2 separate regions of the Homo sapiens genome follow, and region 2 is linked to region 1. Evidence: promoter capture Hi-C in 16 types of primary human blood cells and fetal thymus (Javierre and others, 2016). All regions are on one chromosome and are shown on one strand. The core of a region is centred on a gene start or on the middle of the fragment in contact, and the rest is flanking DNA. Distances in the headings are between cores, read along the strand shown.

Region 1 (4,279 bases), core at 168-2,667:
TAACTGAGACAGCCTCTGACAATGCCCAATGAACACTCAACAAATATTAGCAGAAGTAGGAAAACAACCTATCTTTTGGACTAAATGCTCCGAGAAGGGAGGTGACCTTTATTTCCCTCATGAATTTTATAACCCTTCCAGTTCCAAAAAGGATGACAGGCAGTGCAGGCAGACATCATTCTGTTCGGCTGAAGTTCAATGAATGGCATTGCTGCTCTCAACCTCTTTTGGGTACTATCCCGCCTAAGAAAAGCGGGGTGGGAGAATGGAAATATATTTGCATTTTCATGCATATTAAGTCTCCCACAAAGATGGCTCTTTGTTTTCTTACGGTTTGCAAGCTCCTGAGGACTAGAAATCGGTGAAGGGGGAGGGGAGAGCGAGTGTTCTGAGATTGTTCCTCCCATCCCCTCCCAAAGCTAATCTCGTTCTAGCACTGCACTGCTTTTCCAAACTAGCTGTTGTATGCAGTCCCATTCATCCCTTCTCTCCAGAACTTGACACCTGTGGCTCCTGCAAGTGGAAGGCCCGGGAATGGGAATGAAGCGGGGTGGTGGGCAGGGAAGCGTTATGCTCGGAGAGCCCTTAAAATTCTCCTGGAGGTCGGCAGCGGCGCCCGCCTGTAGCCTCCGGCCTAGAGGCTTCGCCGCCCCTCGGACTAGAACACAGCCCGGCCGTTGTGCTTGCCTCCCCTTCCCAGGCTGTGAGACGGCGGCCGCAACCACCCAGCGCCTCTGGGGATCCGGCCTCTGGTGCTGGGCCCGGGAGAGGGGGCGCTTGGGCACCGGAAGATCCGGAGCGTGCGGGGCGTGGATCGAAGTCTCCAGACCCTGGGCGGGGGAAAGGGGAAGGGAGGGGGAAATCGAGGAGGCCTGAGCTTCTAAACCATGGTGGGGGAGGTGCAAGAGCGCGCCCTGGACCCAGATCCGAGAGGGAAACCTGGGCCCCAAGGCTGAAGGGGGTGAGAAGGTGCCCGGGTCCCGGACCCCGACTGGGGAGGGACGGCCCCAGCCCCGGCCCCGCACCGTGACGCGGAAGTGGAATCCCCTCCATCCTCACCTCTGAGCATCGGCTCGGGCCGCGGAATTACGGCCACCACCATGGCCTCCTCCTCGTCCTCCCCTTCCTCGCATTTCAGCGTCACCTCGAAGCAGTCGAGTGCGGCGCCCTCGGCCTTTAGGGCCATGGTGCGGCCGTGGGCGATAGCAGTGGCCGGAGGACTGGCGCGCAGGCTTCGGCGCGCAGCCGGCAACCGCCTCCCGCCTCCTGGCCGGAATAGCGCCGGGCCCGCCGCCCGCCCCGCGCAGCCCCCTCCCCGCCGCCCGCCCGCCGCTCGCCGGCCGGGCCTGCGACCGGCGCGTCCGGGCCTCCCCGAGACCTCGGCGCGTCGGGAGCCCGGGCGGGGAGGGCTCAATCCGGGGCCCCTGCCCCCCGCCGCTCCCTTTTATGGAGGCTCATTGTCGGCGCCCGCCCGGCCGGCCAGCCGCGGACCCGCCCCCGATGCCGCGCGGCCAATCGCGCGTGGCCCCGCCCCGGGCACGCGGCCCCGTTAGAAACCCTGGACCCGGGAGGCGGCGGGAAGGGCCGAGGGGACCCGGGGCCACCCGGTGCGCAGAGGCAGAGGGGCCCCCAAAACCCGCAACGCGGGCCCCTCAGTCTGCGGGCCAAGCCCGGGGTTTCCCTCCATTAAGAAGTCAGTTGGGCGTTTCTGCTGGCGTGGAGAGCGCTACCAGGTGCCCCCGGATTTTGATCGGGAGTCGCTTTTGCCTTTCCGTGGACAAGCCTTCCTCCGCCAGCAGATGCCCCGGGCAGGAAGAGAAGCGGTGGGTGAGTGGAAAGGGCCTTGGTATGGAAACGCAGAGACCGAATTCCTTCTCATCTGCCAGCTCCGTGGCCGTGGGCACATTATCTGTTTTCTTAGTCCGGCTCATCGTTTCTTTCAAAAACCATTTTGGACCCTTCTGGGAAGGCAAAGAAGAGAAGCAGAGTGGACTGTGAGCGGACATAAACCACCCTGATGGGTATGATTTCCATTTTTGGCACGGGAGTCCGGAGATTTTGTGACCCTCTCCAAGGACACACAGCAATCCCTTGAGAGCCCCAAGACCAGAGTCCAGTTGCCATGACATTGCTGCCCTATAACCACACTCTGGGTGAGCTTTTACTTCTGTGACATGGAATGTGCATCTCCCTCTTCTATAGCAACCCTCATGAGATTTCAGCTCAGAAAATGCAAAATGTCTGACACTGAAAATCCATCTTCGAATGTCGTTATATCAGACCAGACACAGTAGTATTCAGAATCGCGTAGTAGGATGGGGGTGTGAGAAGAGGTGTGAACTAGTCTATATGGATTGCAGTCAATTTTTTAATTTTTTTTTTTTTGAGACAGAGTCTCGCTCTGTCACCAGGCTGGAGTGCAGTGGCGCTATCTCGGCTCACCACAACCTCCGCCTCCCAGGTTCAAGCTATTCTCCCGCCTCAGCCTCCTGGGTAGCTGGGACTACAGGCACGTGCCACCATGCCCGGCTAATTTTTGTATTTTTAGTAGAGACGGGGTTTCAGCATGTTGGCCAGGATGGTCTTGATCTCTTGACCTCATCATCCGTCTGCCTCGGCCTCCCAAAGTGGGATTACAGGCGTGAGCCACCGCGCCTGGCCTTGCAGTCTATTTTTAAGGGAATTATTTTGTTATGTGCAAGTGTATCTGATATTTTAAAGGTTTTACAACAAAGGTATTACCAAGCCTGTTTAACTATTTCTGCTGAATGGTCATTCTCTACCATTTGCTACAGATCCCTTCCGTGCCCCTCTGCTCTGCTCTGTATTGCAGTGGGCTGAGTCTTGCGGGGGGCAGTTTCTCAGGCTCCCAGAGCATCTGGCTTCAGGCCTCGGTTTAGCCAATGGGAGGCAGTGGCAGGAGAAGAGAAGGCAGGAGGAAAGAAAGAGCCATGGTATTTCTTCTCTTTCTCTCTCTTGCTCAGGCTCAGGTGACATCTCCAGCAGCAGATGAGGCCTCTCTGTGGCTCCAGCTCATGGATAGGTAGCTGTGGTCCCAACATCTGTAGGATGATCCATGCCCCTGGGCTCTACTCAGTCCACCTCCTCTTTTTGTCCCTGCAGGTTAGGAGTTGTAGGCAGCTTCTTGCTTTTGCCAGTCTCTGTACTGCCTCTCTCTGTCCCCTGCTGGGCTTTCCAGACCTCCCTGTTAACCCCTGTTAATCGTGTCACCAAAACCCTGCATTACATTCTCTCTGTTTTCAATACTTAAAGTGGTTCCCTCCTGGCGGGGCGCAGTGGCTCCCAACTGTAATCCCAGCAGTTTGGGAGGCCAAGGCAGGTGGATCACTTGAGGTCAGGAGTTCGAGACCAGCCTGGCCAACATGGTGAAACCCTGTCTCTACCATAAGAAAAAAGAAAAAAGAAATTAGCCCGGCATGGTGGTGTGTGCCTGTAATCCCAGCTACTTACGAGGTTGAGTCAGGAAGATTGCTTGAGCCCAGGAGGCGGAGGTTGCAGTGAGCCAAGATCATGCCGCTGCACTTGACTCCAGCCTGGGCGACAGAGCTAGATTGTCTCAAAAAAAAAGTGGTTCCTATTTTCCTGGTTGAACCTTGAGTGATACACCCAGTATTGTACCACCCAATTAGTAGACATTATTTCTTTTAGGTCATATTATTCTCAGCTTATAGAGCAAGAAGTTGAAGCTTAAAGGGTTAGATTACTTGCCCAAGGTAATACAGCAAGAATCTTATTTCATCCAACCTAGAGTGAATATTTCCCCCACATTTTAATATCCCTCAAATGGTGATGCTTTCTATAATCAACATCAACGTGAAGTTTAGGACTGAAGTTTAGGACTATCAAGAAAGTGAAAGATGGCTTTTCTGGCATTCAGACTGTGCTGTTACCAGCAGAAAGTAAGCTATGTTTAGAATGAGACATAGATGAAGCCACTTCATGACCACAAAGTGACTTCGCCTTTTTTTTTTTTTTTTTTTTTGAAATGGAGTCTCACTCTGTCACCCAACCTGGAGCGCAGTGGTGCAATCTCGGCTCACTGCAACCTCCGCCTCCCGGGCTCAAGCAATTCTCTGCCTCAGCCTCCCAAGCAGCTGGGATTACAGGCGCCTGCCACCACACTTGGCTAATTTTTGTATTTTTAGTAGAGTCAGGGTTTCACCATCTTGTCCAGGCTGGTCTTGAACTCTGACCTTGTGATCCTCCTGCCTCGGCCTCTCAAAGTGCTGGGATTACAGGCGCGAGCTACTGCTTCCGG
Region 2 (4,640 bases), core at 310-2,809, 350 kb before region 1:
CCTCACAGAGTGACCTTCCTGGGCTGGCCTGTCCTGCCTCCACCCCACCCCAAGCCCGCACTCTGATGCCTTCCTGGGCACGTGGTCTGGCGCCCTTTTCCCCTTCTCGCTGGCCTCTGGCCACTTGTGAGCAGTTTGCTCATGCCAGGAACAGAGGTTAGAGGAGCAGGGCAGAGGTGGGGTCTTGTCCCTGTGACAACTGATGACACCCTTCAAGAATCACACCACTTCCTCTTGCTCCTGGAGGGGGCATGAGTCTGGGGCCTGGGGAGAGAGAGAACCCAAGCTGCCGCTACTGAGCCCCAAATAGCCCTGCCGGGCACCCAGCTGCCCCTGCCTTTCAGGGCCTGCCTCCTGGGATCCTGTGACTCTTCCCGGCTGGATCCCCTTTCAAAAGTGCAGGGAAGTGGCTAATTGGCTGGGCCTCCGTGGTGGAGTAGGTGTGGCCTCTGGGCTGGGCAGGCAGGATGGGGGGGTCCTGCGGTGTTAGGGGTGAAGAGAAGATGGCTTTCTCGGGACCAGAGGTGGAAATCAAAATGATTTACTCCTGACATGAATTGTGTGGCCTGCGCCAGGATCTAAAAGTGACGGCAGAAAGCACCGACTTTAGCCCGTGAGCAGATGGAGAACTTGTCAGGCACTTGGCCCTTGCCCCAGAACAGCAGGAGGAGTTTGGGGCTGGCAGAGACCCCTGGAGGGGGAGCCACTGTCCCCACAGAGACCCCTGCTCCCCTGAGCACTCTCTCAGAGGACAACAACCCAGGAGGGTGGGAAAGAGCTACGGAGACAAGGTGCCCAGGCACCTGCTCGAGGGCTGCCGCTGTTTTTAGGATCCAGCCCCCACAGCCCCACTCCTTGGTGCCAGGAAAGCAACCGGACCTTGTGATGGGGCTGGGGTTCCTGGGCTGCTGTGTTGTCACTGGGGTCTCCCTTTTGCTTCGAGGTGGGATTTCCAATCATGCAGCAAACTTTTATTGAACGCCCCCTAGGTGGTCAGGCTGGGGACTCAGACATGTGTCAGATAGGCAAGGGCCCTGCCCTCATGGAGCTTGTAATCTGGTGTGAGGATTACAAAGCATCTATTGTAAAGAATGTGTTCTAGCAGCTGAGACAAGGCCCGGTAACCTCAGTGCTGTGAAGACACCATAGCAGATGGGGCCACCTGAGCTGGGGAGATCAGAGGAGGCGTCTCAGGGGTGGTGGCCTGAGAAGAGGCATCCAGCTGGGTAATGATATTCCAGACCCGTTATTGAGTGACAGTGGGCCAGGCCCAAGGAGTGGGGCTGGTCTGGGGCTCTGCCTGCTACTGAAGCCACAGTTAGAGGGACGCTTTCGGGGGTGAGATGTGGAGATCCCCCAATAGTTATCTATTTCTGTGTAACAAAACACCCCGAACCTTAGTGGCGTAAAACAGCAAACCTGCATTCTCTCCATCTCTTGAGGGTCAGGAAACTGAGAGAAGCTTAGCTGGGTGGTTCTAGCTCAGGGTCTCCCTCCCTCTGAGGCCGGGTGGGACTTGGTTAGGGCTGGAGGATGGGCTTCCTAAACAGCTCCCTCCCATAAAATGGCATTTGGTGAGAGGCCTCGGTTGGTCACTTTGGGGCCTCTCCATGGGGCTGCTTGAGTGCCTCACATGGGATAGATGTCCTAAGCTTTTCCCCCAGAGCATATGCTCCACGAGAGGGATCGTGAGGAGACCCCGATGGAGCTGCAGTGCCTTCTTTGTGACCTCGTCTTCGAAGTCTCTCCTGCTTTATTCTAGGGGTCAGAATCGAGTCAGGGAGTCTGGCCATACTCCAGGAGAGGGAAATTAGGCTCTACCTCTTGAAAGAAAGAATCTCAAAGAATTTGAAGGTGTGTTTTTATTTTCTTAAAAAAATTTTTTTTTGAGACAGTTTCACTCTTTTTGTCCAGGCTGGAGTGCAGTGGTGTGATGTCACTGCAACCTCTGCTTCCCGGGTTCAAGTGATTCTCCTGCCTCAGCCTCCTGAGTAGCTGGGATTACAGGCACCCACCACTATACCCGGCTAATTTTTGTTTGTTTGTTTGTTTGTTTGTTTGTTTTTTAGATGAAGACTTATTCTGTTGCCCAGGCTGGAGTGCAGTGGTGTGATCTCAGCTCACTGCAACCTCCGCCTCCGGGGTTCAAGTGATTTTCCTGCCTCAGCCTCCCCAGTAGCTGGGATTACAGACGCGTGCCATCACGCCCGGCTAATTTTTTTGTGTTTTTGGTGGAGATAGGATTTCATCGTGTTAGTCAGGATGGTCTTGATCTCCGGACCTCGTGATCTGCCCGTCTCGGCCTCCCGGAGTGCTGGGGTTACAGGCGTGAGTCACTGGGCCTGGCCAATTTTCTTAAATTTTTTTTTTTTGAGATGGAGTCTTGCTCTGTCACCCAGGCTGGAGTGCAGTGGCGCGACCTTGGTTCATTGCAAGCTCCTCCTCCTGGGTTCATGCCATTCTCCTGCCTCAGCCTCCCGAATAGCTGGGATTACAGGTGCCCGTCACCATGCCCAGATAATTTTTTGTATTCTTTAGTAGAGACAGGGTTTCACTGTGTTAGCCAGGATGGTCTCAATCTCCTGACCTCGTGATCTGCCCGCCTCAGCCTCCCAAAGTGCTGGGATTACAGTCGTGAGCCACTGTGGCCGGCCAAAATTTTTAAAATTAATTTAAATTTTTTTCGAGACAGGGTCTCGCTCAGTTGCTCAGGCTGAAGTGCAGTGGTGTAATCATAGCTAGCTGCACCCTTAAACTGCTGGGCTCAGCGATCCTCCTGCCTCAGCCACCTGAGTAGTTGGAAGTACAGGCGCGCATCACCATGTGCAACTAATTTTTTTTTTTCTTTTGAGACAAGGTCTGTTGCCCACGCTGGAGTGCAGTTGTGAGATCTCAGCTCACTGCTTCCTCAACCTCCTGGGCTCAAGCGATCCTCCCACCTCAGTCTCCCAAGTAGCTGGAACTACAGGCATACGCCACCACGCCTAGCTAATTTTTTGTATTTTTTTGTAGAGACAGAATTTTGACATGTTGCCCAGGCTGTTCTCAAACTCCTAAGCTCAAGCGATCTACCCACCTCGGCCTCCCAAAGTGCTGAGGTTACAGGTGTGAGCCATGGGCTGCTAATGTTTTAAAACCTTTATTGTAGAGACTGGGTTTCACCATGTTGCCCAGGCTGGTCTCAAACTCCTAAGCTCAAGCGATCTACCCACCTCGGCCTCCCAAAGTGCTGAGGTTACAGGTGTGAGCCATGGGCTGCTAATGTTTTAAAACCTTTATTGTAGAGACTGGGTTTCACCATGTTGCCCAGGCTGGTCTCAAACTCCTAAGCTCAAGCGATCTACCCACCTCGGCCTCCCAAAGTGCTGAGGTTACAGGTGTGAGCCATGGGCTGCTAATGTTTTAAAACCTTTATTGTAGAGACTGGGTTTCACCATGTTACCCAGGCTGGTCTCAAACTCCTGGCCTCAAGCAATCCGCCCACCGCAGCCTCCCAAAATGCTGGCATGACAGGTGTGAGCCACTGTGCCTGGCCAAGTGTATTTTTTAAGCCATCACATTATGGGAGATCTGGGGGGCTGCCCCAGCTGGACTCTGCCTTTGATTAGGGTCTGAGCCGTGGCCCTTGAAGACTGCTACACTTTTCATCGTTACATTCAAATCACACTTTCAGCCAAGTTACATTTGACAGTCAAGTGCTGCAAGTGTAGAGATCTTCAGTGCACAGTGTATGCAACTGTGCAGTCACTACTTGGGTCAAAAGGTAGAGCATTGCCATCACGCCAGAAGTCGCCTCTTTTCACTTGGTACTGTCTGGAGCTAATCACTCTTGTGATATCTGTTCATTTTGTCTCTTCTTGAAGTCTGGCCCCTTTTACTCAATATCCGGCCAGTTCGTCCTTGTTATTGGATGTGGCAATGGTTCCCTCTTTTTCATTGCTGTATAGTGTTCCAGCATATGAACGTACCACAGCTTGTTTCCCACTCTTTTGTTGTTTTGTTTGGTTTTGTTTTTTGAGATGGAGTCTTGCTCTGTCGCCCAGGCTGGAGTGTAGTGGCACGATCCTGGCTAACTGCAACCTCCGTTTCTTGGGTTCAAGCGATTCTCCTGCCTCAGCCTCCAGAGTTGCTGGGATTACAGGCACCCGCCACCACGCCTGGCTAATTTTTGTATTTTAGTAGAGACGGAGTTTCACCATGTTGGCCAGGCTGGTCTCAAAATACTGACCTCAGGTGGTCTACCTGTCTCGGCCTCCCAAAGTGCTGGGATTACAAGTGTGAGCCACCATCCCGGCCCCCACTCTTTTGTTGATAGGCATTTGGGTTTCTTGTGAATAAAACTGTGCTGAACATTTTTTTTTTTTTTTTTTTTAGATATGGTCTCATTCTGTTGCCCAGGCTGGAGTGCAGTGGTGCAATCACAGCTCACTGCAGCCTCCAACTTCTGGGCTCAAACCATCCTCCCACCTCAGCCTCCTGAGTAGCTGGGACTATAGGCATGTGCCACCATGCCTGGCTAATGTTTTTAAAAATGTCTTGCAGAGACAGGGTCTCATTATGTTGCCCCAGGCTGGTCTCGAACTCCTGGGCTCAAGTGATCCTCCCACCTCCGCCTGCAAAAGTGCTAGCGCTGAGATTAC

What was found. Contacts are between HindIII fragments. The CHiCAGO score rates a contact against its expected background, and 5 or more counts as called.
Region 2: a fragment that was not itself captured here is called in contact with the fragment with the promoter of SPINDOC in region 1 in 11 of 17 cell types (total B cells, naive B cells, naive CD4 T cells and 8 more); the score reaches 8.6 in total B cells.

The regions. Positions count from the first base shown.
Region 1 is chr11:63,810,594-63,814,872 of GRCh38, reverse strand. It overlaps SPINDOC (spindlin interactor and repressor of chromatin binding), which reads right to left and starts at 1,417. Exons shown (of 6, transcript NM_138471.3): 1 at 1,060-1,417. The coding sequence starts at 1,186. RefSeq lists silencers at 1,312-1,781, 3,042-3,336. The HindIII fragment of the contact is 4,146 bases long and covers 1-3,709 here.
Region 2 is chr11:64,160,547-64,165,186 of GRCh38, reverse strand. The region is part of intron 1 of MACROD1 (mono-ADP ribosylhydrolase 1); the gene reads left to right. Among named protein-coding and RNA genes, the nearest start is that of MACROD1, 3.2 kb to the left of the region's middle. The HindIII fragment of the contact is 190 bases long and covers 1,465-1,654 here.